2 separate regions of the Homo sapiens genome follow, and region 1 is linked to region 2. The links are contacts of gene promoters, found by promoter capture Hi-C in human tissues and cell types (Jung and others, 2019). All regions are on one chromosome and are shown on one strand. The core of a region is centred on a gene start or on the middle of the fragment in contact, and the rest is flanking DNA. Distances in the headings are between cores, read along the strand shown. Region 1 overlaps CLIP2 (CAP-Gly domain containing linker protein 2). Region 2 holds the start of EIF4H (eukaryotic translation initiation factor 4H).

What was found. The method cuts DNA at HindIII sites, captures the fragments that hold promoters and counts their contacts. A contact is called where the count stands out against the background at its distance.
Region 1: a fragment that was not itself captured here is called in contact with the fragment with the promoter of EIF4H in region 2 in 1 of the 25 tissues and cell types used here (lymphoblastoid cells).

The regions. Positions count from the first base shown.
Region 1 is chr7:74,398,511-74,405,234 of GRCh38, forward strand. It overlaps CLIP2 (CAP-Gly domain containing linker protein 2), which reads left to right. Exons shown (of 17, transcript NM_003388.5): 15 at 1,860-2,045; 16 at 2,995-3,057; 17 at 5,327-6,724. The coding sequence ends at 5,338. Among named protein-coding and RNA genes, the nearest start is that of GTF2IRD1, 52 kb to the right of the region's middle. RefSeq lists an enhancer at 6,156-6,724. The HindIII fragment of the contact is 5,500 bases long and covers 1-5,286 here.
Region 2 is chr7:74,171,862-74,177,639 of GRCh38, forward strand. EIF4H (eukaryotic translation initiation factor 4H) reads left to right here and starts at 2,495. Exons shown (of 7, transcript NM_022170.2): 1 at 2,495-2,581. The coding sequence starts at 2,523. RefSeq lists a silencer at 2,246-2,755 and enhancers at 2,258-2,552, 2,534-3,047, 3,048-3,560. The HindIII fragment of the contact is 15,155 bases long and covers 1-4,723 here.

The DNA of each region.
Region 1 (6,724 bases), core at 1,287-3,786, 230 kb after region 2:
CCACCACCCTCCTGCCCAGACATTGGGCTCAGCCACTGTAGAGGTGATGGAAGGAGAGCAGGGCCCAGCCCTGGGCAAGGGGGTGGTTCACAGGCTGGAGGGAGGGCCTCAGCGCCACCGACCCCCTATATCCGGGAGTAGGCCCTTGGCCCTCAGGGTTCCGGGATAAAGAGCATCACTCTGGCCACACACCCAGACTGTGGCTGTGGGGGTCACTGAGTCCTGCCGGCCTTCAAGTCCTGGCCTATCTGGCTAGCAGGGGTTGGTGGCTGCACCCTCTGTGGTCCCTGTGGCTCAACAGAAGATAAGCCCCTGGGGTTGGCACGGACTGGGGAGTCTTGAATACCCCCAGGGGCTTCCCTAGAGCCTTGTAGGAGTGCGCAGTGCTGAGCTCAGACTGGTGCCCATGGGGCACAGATTGGTCAAGTTTACTTGGGAAGTGGCGGCCTCTGCCCCAGGGTAGCCTCTTGTCTCATCATCTCCCTGCACTGTGTCCACGGGAGAACTTGGGAAGCCTTGGTGTGTGGGTAGAAGCCTCTTGATTTCAGGATGGAGGTTCTGTTGGGAGGTGGTTTGGAGGGTCAGAGCAGGCAGGACTGGGCAGTGCTGAAGGATGGAGTTTGTGCAGGAGCGAGGAGGCTGGCGGGCCTTGGGGCAGGTACAGCTCTGGGTGCCATGGTGGGGGTGACTATGGAGAGGAGGAACCTCATAAGACAGTTGGGTGGGGGCAGTGTAAGAAGAAGGGTGCTGGGTGCGGTGGCTCATGCCTATAATCCCACTGCTTTGGGAGGCCAAGTTGGGAGGATGGCTTGAGGTCAGGAGTTCGAGACCAGCCTGGACCTCATAACAAGACCGCATCTCTACAAAAAAAGTTAAAAATTAGCCAAGTGTGGTTGCATGCCCTGCAGTATCAGCTACTCGGGAGGCTGAGGTGGGAGGATCACTTGAGCCCAGGAATTGGAGGCTGTAATGAGCTGTGATTGCACCACTGCACTCCAGCCTGCACAATAGAGTGAGACTCAGTCTTTTTTTGGGGGGGGGGGGGTGGGGACCAAGTCTCACTCTGTCGCCCAGGCTGGAGTGCAGTGGCATGATCTTGGCTCACTGCAACCTCCACCTCCCGGGTTCAAGCGATTCTCCTGCCTAGGCCTCCAGAGTAGCTGGGACTACAGATGTGAGCCACCACACCCTGCTAATTTTTGTACTTTTAGTAGAAATGGGGTTTTACCATGTTGACCAGGCTGGTCTCGAACTCCTGACCTCAGGTGATCTGCCTGCCTCGGCCTCCCAAAGTGCTGGGATTACAGGCGTGAGCCACCAGGCTCGGTCTCTGTCTCTTTTTTTAATTATTTTTAAAGGCAAGGCTGGGCGCAGTGGCTCATGCCTGTAATCCCAGCACTTTGGGAAGCCGAGGCGGGTGGATCACGAGGTCAGGAGATTGAGACCATCCTGGCTAACACGGTGAAACCACGTCTCTACTAAAAATAGGAAAAAATTAGCGGGGCGTGGTGGTGGGCCCCTCCCAGCTACTCAGGAGGCTGAGGCAGGAGAATGGCATGAACCCGGGAGGCGGAGCTTGCAGAGACCCAAGATCGCGCCACTGCACTCCAGCCTAGGTGATAGAGCGAGACTCTGTCTCAAAAAAAAAAAAAAAAAAAAAGTCAAGAGGGATGGGGTCCTGGGTTCCCCACTTGGAGACCATGGAGCACCTCACAGAGGCCTGAGGGACCTCTGGGTGATGCCCAGGCTTGGAACCCAGAGACAAAGTGAGGCTGGAAGACTTTCCTGCCTAGAGTTGAGACGCCCACCAACACACACACGCACACTCATGTACTCTTCCACTCTCCTGCCACTTCCAGGACAAAGAGAAATCCCTGTCGGATCAGAGGCGCTACTCCCTCATCGACCGGTCCTCGGCGCCCGAGCTTCTGCGGCTGCAGCACCAGCTGATGAGCACGGAGGACGCCCTGCGGGATGCGCTGGACCAGGCTCAGCAGGTGGAGAAGCTGATGGAGGCCATGAGGAGCTGCCCTGACAAGGCCCAGGTGAGCCGCGGCTGACAGGGCCCACCAGGAGGCAAGCCACGGGGCAGTGTCCTCGGAGCCCCCGTCTGATGCGGGAGGCAGCCTTGTCTTTAAAACCCCAGTCTGAGGAGGTAGGGAGCTCGTCCCAGGAACCTGGTCTGAAGGGGGAGGTAGCCCTGTCCCAGAAACCCTGGTTTGAAGAAGGAGGCAGCTCTGTCCTGGGAACCCCAGTCTGAAGGGGGAGGCAGCCCTGTCTCAGGAACCCGGGTCTGAATGGGGAGGTAGCTCTGTCCCGGGAACCCCTGGTCTGAAGGGGGAGGCAGCTCTGTCCCAGGAACCCTGATGTGAAGGGGGAGGCAGCTCTGTCCCAGAAGCCCCCGGTCTGAAGGGGGAGGTAGCTCTGTCCCGGGAACCCTAGTCTGAAGGGGGAGGCATTTCTGTCCTAGGAACCTTGATCTGAAGGGAGAGGCAGCTCTGTCCTGGGAACCCTAGTCTGAAAGGGAAGGCATCTCTGTCCCGGGAACCTTGATCTGAAGAGGGAGGCAGCTCTGTCCCGGAACCCTGGTCTGAAGGGGGAGGCAGCTCTGTCCCGGGAACCCTGGTCTGAAGGGGGAGGTGGCGCTGTCCCAGGAACCTCCATCAGAAATGGGAGGCAGCCCTGGCCCAGGAACCCTGATCTAAAGCGGGAGGCAGCTCTGTCCTGGGAACCCAGCTGAAAGGGGAGGGAGCCCTGCCCTCTGGAACCCCCAGTTCAAGGGGCACATGGCTTTGCCCTGAGGAGCTTAGACTAAGAAGGAAGATGCAGCCTTACCCCTAGAGGCTTGGTCTTTGGGGGTGCTGGGAGCCCCAGGCTGAAGGGGTTGGAATTTGGAGCCTGAGACGGTCCCATGGGAAGACCTCGCCATCTAGTGGGAAAATCGGGAACTGCTGCCTGGTGCACCTGGCTCAGTGTCTCCCCTAACTCTTCCAGACCATCGGCAATTCCGGTTCTGCAAACGGCATCCACCAGCAGGACAAAGCTCAGAAACAAGAGGTGAGGGGCGCCTCGGGCCTCCCAGGTCCCTCCCGTGCAGGCAGACCTCTCTGGAGAAAATCCTTGAAACGTCACTAAGAATACACACAAAGATGCATTCTGCAAGAAGCTTTACAGTAGGGTCCCTCAGGGAGGGTGCTGTTGCAGGCAAACTTGATTCCAGATTCACCCTGCTCTTTTTGATTTGTGTTTTCTTCCCTTCTTAAAAAAGTTATAGGTTGGGCGCAGTGGCCCACGCCTGTAACCCCAGCACTTTGGGAGGCCAAGGCAGGAGGATCATTTGAGCCCAGGAGTTTGAGACCAGCCTGGCCAATATGGTAAAACTCCGTCTCTACTGAAAATACAAAATTAGCCGGGTAGGGTGGACAATATAGCGAGACCCTCTCTCTATTAAAAAAAAAAAATTTTAAAAAGGCTGGGCACAGTGGCTCATGTCTGTAATCCCAACACTTTGGGAGGCCGAGGCCGGTGGGTCACTTGAGGTCAGGAATTTGAGACCAGCCTGGCCAATATGGTGAAACTCCATCTGGCGGGCGGATCACAAGGTCAGGAGATCAAGACCATCCTGGCTACCACGGTGAAACCCCATCTCTACTAAAAATACAAAAAAAAATTAGCTGGGCGTGGTGGCGGGCACCTGTAGTTCCAGCTACTCTGGAGGCTGAGGCAGGATAATGGCATGAACCCGGAAGGCGGAGCTTGCAATGAGCCGAGATCGCGCCACTGGACTCCAGCCTGGGCGACAGAGCGAGACTCCATCTCAAAAAAAAAAAAAACCAAAAAAAAAAAAAAATACAAAATTAGCTGGGTAGGGTGGCGCACACCTGTAATCCCAGCTACACGGGAAGCTGAGGCAGGAGAATCGCTTGAACCTGGCAGGTGGAGGTTGCAGTGAGCCGAGATCGCACCATTGCACTCCAGCCTGGGCAACAAGCACAAAACTGTCTCAAAAAATAGTAATAAAAATTTTAAAAATTAGCTAGGTGTGGTGGCGCATGCCTGTAGCCTCAGCTACTCAGGAGGCTAAGGCAAGAGGATCACTCAAGCCCAGGAGTTTGAGGCTGCAGTGAGCTAGGATTGCGCCACTGCACTCCAGCCTTGGTGATAAAGTGAGACCCTGTCTCTAAGAAGAACACAGAAAGAGAGAGAACCTAGTTCTGACTGCAGAATCCCTGGAGCACAGATGCTCGCTAGAAACAGGAGCAGCACAGCCACAGAATCTGCCAAGCTCCAGACACAGGCAGGGTTATGTGGGCAGAGCCAGCCTCAGAGGAGTTAGTGTGATTTTGTCCTCCTGGCCTTGTTCTCCTGGCCACCCTGCGAGACACATGGGGTCATCCCAGTTCACAGATGTGAAAACTGTCCAGGTGCAGTGGCTCACACCTATAATCCCAGCACTTTAGGAGGCCAAGGCAGGTGGATCACTTGAGGTCAGGAGTTTGAGACCAGCCTGGCCAACATAGCGAAACCCCATCTCTACTAAAAATACAAAAAAAAAAAAATCATCTGGGTGTGGTGGCACATGCCTGTAGTCCCAGCTACTCGGGAGGCTGAGGCAGGAGAATCGCTTGAACCCGGGAGGCAGAGGTTGCAGTGAGCCAAGATCGTGCCACTGCACTCTAGCCTGAGCAACAGTGAGACTGTCTCAAAAAAAAAAAAAAAAAAGAGAGAGAGATCCAGCCCCGTACAGGCACTGAGGGCTCTTTGTAAAACCTGCTTCTGGCTGGGCGCAGTGGCTCATGCCTGTAATCCCAGAACTTTGGGAGGCCGAGGTGGGTGGATCATGAGGTCAGGAGATCAAGACCATCCTGGTCAACATGGTGAAACCCCATCTCTACTAAAAATACAAAAATTAGCTGGGCATGGTGGCGCATGCCTGTTATCCCAGCTACTCAGGAGGCTGAAGCAGGAGAATCGCTTGAACCAGGGAGTCGAAGGTTGCAGTGAGCTGAGATCAGACCACTGCACTCCAGCCTGGCGACAGAGCAAGACTCCGTCTTAAAACAAACAAACACACAAACAAACAAAAAACCTGCTTCTTCCCCTCGGCTCCGCTTCCCATCAGCACCTCCCACCCCACCTGCTGTCTCACACAGCCACAAACACACAGCAGGGAGACACTTCCTGCCTCAGGGCCTTGGCACATGCAGTTCGCTCTATGCTCCTCCCCCACCCGGCCCCAACTCCTTTCCTCCCTGACTCCCCTCTGGCCGCCTGGCCCTCCAGGCTCTCTGAGACCCTTGCTGATGATGCCCTTTACTCTCTCTAGGACAAGCACTGATCCTGAGGGGATACTGTGGAGCAGCCCAGTCCACACCAGAGCCCCACGCGGCTGCCCGGCAGTACCTCCTCCAGGCAGGAGCCGGGACTGTCACTTTGGAGACAAAACAGTGTTTGTAACAATAACGTACTCACCGCCGCGGACAATCCCCCACCCCGATCCCTCGCCAGACCAGGACGCTTCCTCAAGCCCAGCCTTCTACAGAGAGTGTGAACGGTACAGCCCCGGCCTGACCCGGGGACCTTCAGCCTGGACACCCGGCAGCTTCTGGAGTTTGTCAGTGGAGGCAGAGGGGATCCGGCCAGGCCCCTCTGTCCAGAAGGAGCTGCCCTGAGGACCATCTTAGCGGCCCTGTCCTCTTTTTCCGCCCATTCTCCCTCGGGTCTCCCCAGAGGGGCCGGCGGGGGCTGGGGAGGGGGTAAGTTTATCCATGCAGACACCAAGGGGGAGCATCCAGTCTTTAAGAGCCAAGTGGGGGCCCCTTTTCCGAAGCCACTTCCAGGCCAAGGCAGTCGCCAGGGCTTCTTGTCCCCACCTTCTGAACCTTCTTCAAACAGTAGTACAAGCTCCCCTCAGCCAGCCTGCCTGCCCAGCGAGGCCCCCAGGTTCAAGGTGTTGGCGGGGGCGGAGGGCAGGGGAACGGGATCCTTCTCCCGCTGCCCACCAACACCAACACACACACACCTCTAAGCTGCTGGCCGAAGATGTCACCAAGGCCAAAGACACAGTATTATGAAGGTTTGGAAACCCCTCTCCTCACCTCCCACCGTGACCTTGGGCAAACCCTGGCTCGGAGCCCAGGGCAGAGGCAGCTCAGAGTGGAGGCTCTAGGCAGGTTTGACAAAGGTCAGTAATACGGTTTCCCCTGGGGTTGACCAGATGTTCCAAAATATCTGCATCCACCTGGAGATGCAGCTAAGTGGGTCCTTATGTACACACCACGTTCACACACACACAGAGGGACCACGTGTGCACGCATGACCGTGTGGGTGGCGGCGTTTGCTGTGAACCACGCTCAGGCCACACAGAGACACATACTTGGTTTCTGGGACTGAGACCCAGGCCTGGCAGGACCGTGCCTACAGATACTGCAAACGTTCCTACAGCCTAGAGGTGCGTATACACACCCAAGTACACGCAGCCAGGCATTCAGGGGTGTGTTTGCCACATGGAGCATCCCTTCCTGGTCTTGCCAGGCACCTGCACAGAGCGTCTCCAGCCCCATCTCCTAACGGGGGCTGGGGGTAAGAGAAATCTAACTGCGCTCCCCCAACCCCTCGCCCTGCCATCTTCCCCTCAAGCCTGCTAAGTTATCCCAGGCCTGTGCGTGGTGGAAAAAGCCAGCCTTGGCCCTGCAGCCTCCACCTCGCCGCTGGGGGACCAACA
Region 2 (5,778 bases), core at 1,245-3,744:
CAATACCACTACTTCGGGAGGCCAAGGAGGGAGAATAACTTGAAGTCAGGAGTTCAAGACCTGCCTGGGGGGCCGGGCACGGTGGCTCACACCTGTAATCCCAGCACTTTGGGAGGCCAAGGCGGGCGGATCACAAGGTTAGATCAAGACCATCCTGGCTAACACGGTGAAACCCCGTCTCTACTAAAAATACAAAAAATTAGTCGGGCGTAGTGGCGGGCGCCTGTAGTCCCAGCTACTCAGGAGGCTGAGGCAGGAGAATGGCATGAACCTGGGAGGCGGAGCTTGCAGTGAGCCGAGATTGCGCCACTGCACTCCAGCCTGGGTGACACAGCCAGACTCTGTCTCAAAAAAAAAAAAAAGACCCGCCTTGGCAACATGGCAAGACCCATCTCTACCAAAAACAAAAAAAAAAAGAAAGTAAATAAGAGTAATAGAGTAATGGGGGCAGGAGCATGGAGCAGGGGTCCAAGTTTAAACTGCGCAAGGAGAAGAAACCATTGGTTATTTTCTGAGCCATGTGCTAAGGTCAAAACTAGGTGACCTTGGGCAAGTCTCTTTCTCTCTGGGTGGTTCCACAGCTGTTAAACAGGTTTGGAAATTATTATCTACAGGTAAAGCACCCATAATGGTGCCAGACACCTTGGTAGGTCCCCAATATATATTGTGTGCCAGGAATTTTACATATTTACTAATTTGAATCTTTACAACACTGAAGAGGTAGGTGACATTATTATATAGATGAGAAAACAGGCATGTTAAAGCGGTTAAGCAACGTCCTCGAGGTCACTCAGCCAGTAAGACGTTAACTGAGCCTAGGTTCAATCTAGGTCTATCAGGCAGCAAAGTGTTTTATTACTTGGGAAGAAAAAGGCACAGAAAAATGAATAAGTGAGTTCAACACTATTAACTCATGAATTGATAATGCTCTGTCCATCTTAACACTGCTATGAAGGAGAAGATACTCAAATATAAAAGTTGGCAGGGCACAGTGGCTCATGCTTGTAATTCCAGCACTTTAGGAGGCAGAGGCAGGAGGACTACTTAAAAGCCAGTAGATCGAGACAAACCTGGGCAACATAGTGAGACTCTGTCTCTACAAATAAATGTTTTACAAAGCAAATTAGAGCCAGGCACGGTGGCTCATGCCTGTAATCCCAGCACTTTGGGAGGCCAAGGCGGGTGGATCTCAGTTCAAGACCAGCCTGGGCAACATGGTGAAACGCTGTCTCTACTAAAAATACAAAAATTAACTGGGTGTGGTGGTGCACGTCTGTCACCCCAGTTACTCGGGAGACAGAGGCAGGAGAATTGCTTGAACCGAGGAGGTGGAGGTTGCAGTGAGATGAGATTGCGCCACTGCACTCCAACCTGATTCTCCATCTCAAAAAAAAAAAAAAAAAAATGCAAATTAGGCGAGGTACTGCCCGCCTATAGTCCTAGCTACTCCAGAGGCTAAGGCGGCAGGATGGCATGAGCCCAAGAGGTCAAGGCTGCCGTGAGCTACCACTGTTCCACCGCAGTCCAGCCTGGGCGACAGAGCGAGACCCTGTCTCAACAACGAACCAATAAATACATAATAAAAAGTAATGGTTAAGCGGAAGATACCTAGGTACACATCACAACAAAATTCTATGAGGTTCTTTCAAAGTGTGCTTAGATAATTAAGGTTTGTCAACATCGTGGCATCCACAATTACTACCATCTCAATCACAAACCTGGAAATTTACCCGTGTAATTAATTCCCACTGCATAACCATGTTTTGTTATTGCTAGATGATGGAATCCACAACAGTATCCAATTCTTTTTCCAAGGCAACGACTTCTGCAAAAAACCGAGATGTGCAGTCTCTCTTGCTAAGTCACCGATCACCTATACTCTCTCCTCTCAAAACCCCCCAATACCCAGGCAGCGAGTAAGCCCTGGAAGGCAGGATTCGTGTCTGCATCCCACCGCCTCGCACCCCCTTCCGGGGCATCCTCATCGTGTGGCCAGCTCCTGCCTGGAGAAGGAGGTGGCCTTTACTTGGGTGTCACCCGGGGACCACTTGGGGGTCCAAGCGGGACAGGCCTCCGAGGTCCCCGCCATGTATGGAGGCCGAAAGGCAGCGTCCCAGGCGAACTGGAGAGGGAGTTCCCCCCAGCTCTCCAGGTCACCTCCCGCCGACGGACGGAAAGGCCGGCGCGCACGGGCGTGGTGCGGCGGGGATAGGAGGCAGCCACGGGCGCACCCCAGGGCCAGCACATAATGGGCCGCGTAGGCCGGGCAGGCGTCCAGCTGGGACGCCGCCGCACCACGTGGGCTGCAGAGCGCACGGGGCAGGCAGCTGCCGGTGGGCCCAGGGCCGGGCGCTGCGCGGCCAGCGTCCGTGCGTGCGTGCGCGCGCGCGCGTGCGCGTGCCTGCGTCCAAGGGATTTGCGATCAGGCGGCGCGGCGGACAGCCCCGGCGGCGGGGCGGGGGGAGTTATATTGCGGGGTCCTTCCTCGCTCACCCTGGTTCCTCTCGGAGCGGAGACGGCAAATGGCGGACTTCGACACCTACGACGATCGGGCCTACAGCAGCTTCGGCGGCGGCAGAGGGTGAGGCGGGCGTGCGCGGGCCCCGTCGGGGGCTGCGGGACCGGCGGAGTCGGGGCCGTCAGGGTGGCGGCCGTCCTGCGCTCAGCCGGGGCGGCGGGAGGCGGGGGCCCGCGGAGGCCTAGGAGCGGCGCCTGGAGGGCCGGGGCCTGGAAATGGCGCGCTCGGAGACGGGGCGGCGGCGGCTGGGCTCCCGGGGTCTTGCTTGCGGGGCGGATCCCTTCCACTGCCTCCCGCCAACGACAACGTGTTGGTTTTTGCCCTGCCTTGGCCGCGGCGGCGCCGATGCCCGGAGACGAGCGCCCGCTTCCAGCCCCATCCCCCCTACGGTAGGACCAGTGCGGGGCTGAGCTGTGGCGCTGGGGTACGGGCCACACGGCCTGCCCCGCTCCGGTCCCGGCCTCTTTCGCGGCCCTCTGTTGCCTGCCCGCCTTGCAGGCCCCTGGCCCCTTCGCCACGAGGCCGGCCGACTGGGGAAGGTCGGCAGCCAAGAGGGGCGATTCCCTTCCCCTTACGTGTGAGGCAGGGATTTGGCGGCTCTGGCCCGGGGATGGTACGACTCCTTGCGGGCGGGGGGAGACCAAGGAGATAAATCCATCGTAGCTTCTTTGTATTAATCTTTCTTGGGTCACAGTGCCTTGACAGGTGCTACGTGCTCTTTGGCACAATTTCATTTCTCCTTGGTTTCTCGCTCTGATCTGGAGAAGGAACCGCATTTAGCGTCGTCCTGATTGTTGTCAAATGCAGACAACTATGTATAATTGAAACACTTTGCTTAAAAGAAACATCTTTGAATAGAGAGCTCATGGTGTTTAATTCCAGGACTCTGCACTTTTTTTTATTTTATTTTTTAAATACAAGTTGCCTCGTTAGAATATAGGCTATGAACATCTTGCTGTTTGTCAAGGACACACTTGGGCTTTGTGTTTTCTTGCAGAAAGGATTACTTTCCCAGGATAACACCACAATAATACACACTGAGGTGTTCAGTCTCCTGGGTTGCAGTCCAAAAGTATCTTTGTTTGGTAAAGAATGATCACTTTTAATACCTTGGTTTGGGAACGGCTCAGACAAAAGCTTGTTTCGGGGCAGGAGTGTAGCTAATGTTCATGATACTGTAACGTGGAAGTGTGCCGGTGTAGGTGGAGCTATTGTCATTCCAAAGAACATTTTATTTGCTAATAAAAAAAGAAGTAAATGTTGGATGACATGAAATTATCGCCTTTGGGTTAGGTTTCTAAACATCAAATTTGTTCTCAAGTCATTTCGAAATTTAATAACTAGGGTTTTTTTTTTTTTCCTAGTTCCAAAAAACGTTCACAGAAGTACCCAGAAAAATTCTTCTTAAACAGCGTGGTCAATTTAAGTTTTAGTTGCATTGGGACTACAATAAGGTGACCTTATTAAACTGAGTGTGGGGATTTAAAAAAATTTCCTTCAGACACATTTGCCAGCTCTTCTGGTGTCAAATTTTGACATTTGGGGGTGCCAGGAACAATCAGAAGTAAAATTCTATTAAGATGCTATTAATTTCAAATCTCCACAGCAGATGAAAATATTAGCCATTTGCCCCAGGTGTACTCCAAAAACTGATAGGAGAGTTTCCTAGGTAGCACTGTGCATCACTTGAACTTCCTAATAGAAAGTCTCTTTACTGTTAAGCATCTTCTATGTCTCACTTACTTGGAATTTTCTATTTGGCTTCATATTAATGTGAAACTACATAAAGTATTGCTACTTTCAGAAGTAGTTTTAAAAACTTGTTGGTGAATTTACATATTCATTTATACATGTGTATTCTTTTTTTTTTTTTTTGAGATGGAGTTTCACTCTTGTTGCCCAAGCTGGAGTGCAATGGTGTGATCTCGGCTCACTGCAACCTCCACCTCCCGGGTTTAAGCGATTCTCCTGCCTCAGCCTCCCAAAGTGCTGGGATTACAGGCATTAGCCACCGCGCCCGGCCTCAATTATTTTAATTATGTCCACATGAACAAATGTCACTGCTTTACAATGCTTAAGCATCATAGAAGATTGCCACCTATGGAAAGCAGTTTTAACACTGCATTGTTTGGTACTTGTGTAGGCACCTTCTCCCTTGTCTAAAATGCCTCAGACAGGCTCGTACATCTCACCTCTGAATTACTTGGGTCACAGGTGAAAGAAATGGTAGGCCTAAAATGAACAGTTATCATCATAAAACATAGTTTGGTAGTTATACATCTTCCTAAGTTTATTTCGTAGTTGTGTTTAATAACCAGTGCAGTTGTCAGGAAACAGTATTGAACCACTGCTTTTTTCCCCCGAGCCTGTAAGGGCATGTCCCCAGCAGCCAGGGAGAGAACCAGGGACTGCATTGTTCAGCAAGCAAATCAAAACAAAATTCCAAATGATCAAGAGTTGATTGTACCAGATCTTGAATGGACTTTGTTTTGCAGTTTGCTAAATTATCTTTTTGAGGTTCCAGTTTCTCATCTACCATTGGCAGTAAAGTGCAGAGTAATACTGATTTTATATTTCTAATTGCAACAAAGCTATGAGTGCTTAGTGGAAAACCACCGATCCTGAGAATTAGGGTGGAAATTGGAGGTGGCAAGAATTGAGGTGGCTGAAATGGTGCCATCTAAAAACTGGCAAAACTCCAAATTTATTCTTTATCAGGATTCAGTTAGGGAGTTTAGAATTCTTTTTTAAATAGAGATGGGTTTCACTATGTTGCCCAGGCTGGTCTTGAACTCTTGGACTCAAGTGATCCTCCCGCCTCAGCCTCCCAAAGTGTTGGGATTACAGGCATGAGCTACCACGCCCAGCCTAGGAGTTTAGAATTCTAACCTTTGAATCTTTAAACTTAGCATGTCTGTCTAAATTTCTGAGCATATTTTTATCCAAAATTTTTATGGTGGTAAAATATACATAACATAAAATGTGCCACTTTACCCATTTTTCAGTATACATTTCAGGGATATTGAGTGTATTCGTAATGTATAACCATCACCACTATCCAGCTCCTTAACTCTTACAGCTTGTAAAACTAAAACCCTGTCCCCTTTGAATAGTAATTCCCTATTGCCCTCCTTCCCCCAGGTCCCTGGCAACCACCATTCTACTTCCTGTCTCTGAGCATATTTTAAGATTTGTATGTAATAGGAAGGAAAGCAGTGTATAAAAACTACAGCTAGTTTTCACTGATGCTAGGGCCTGTA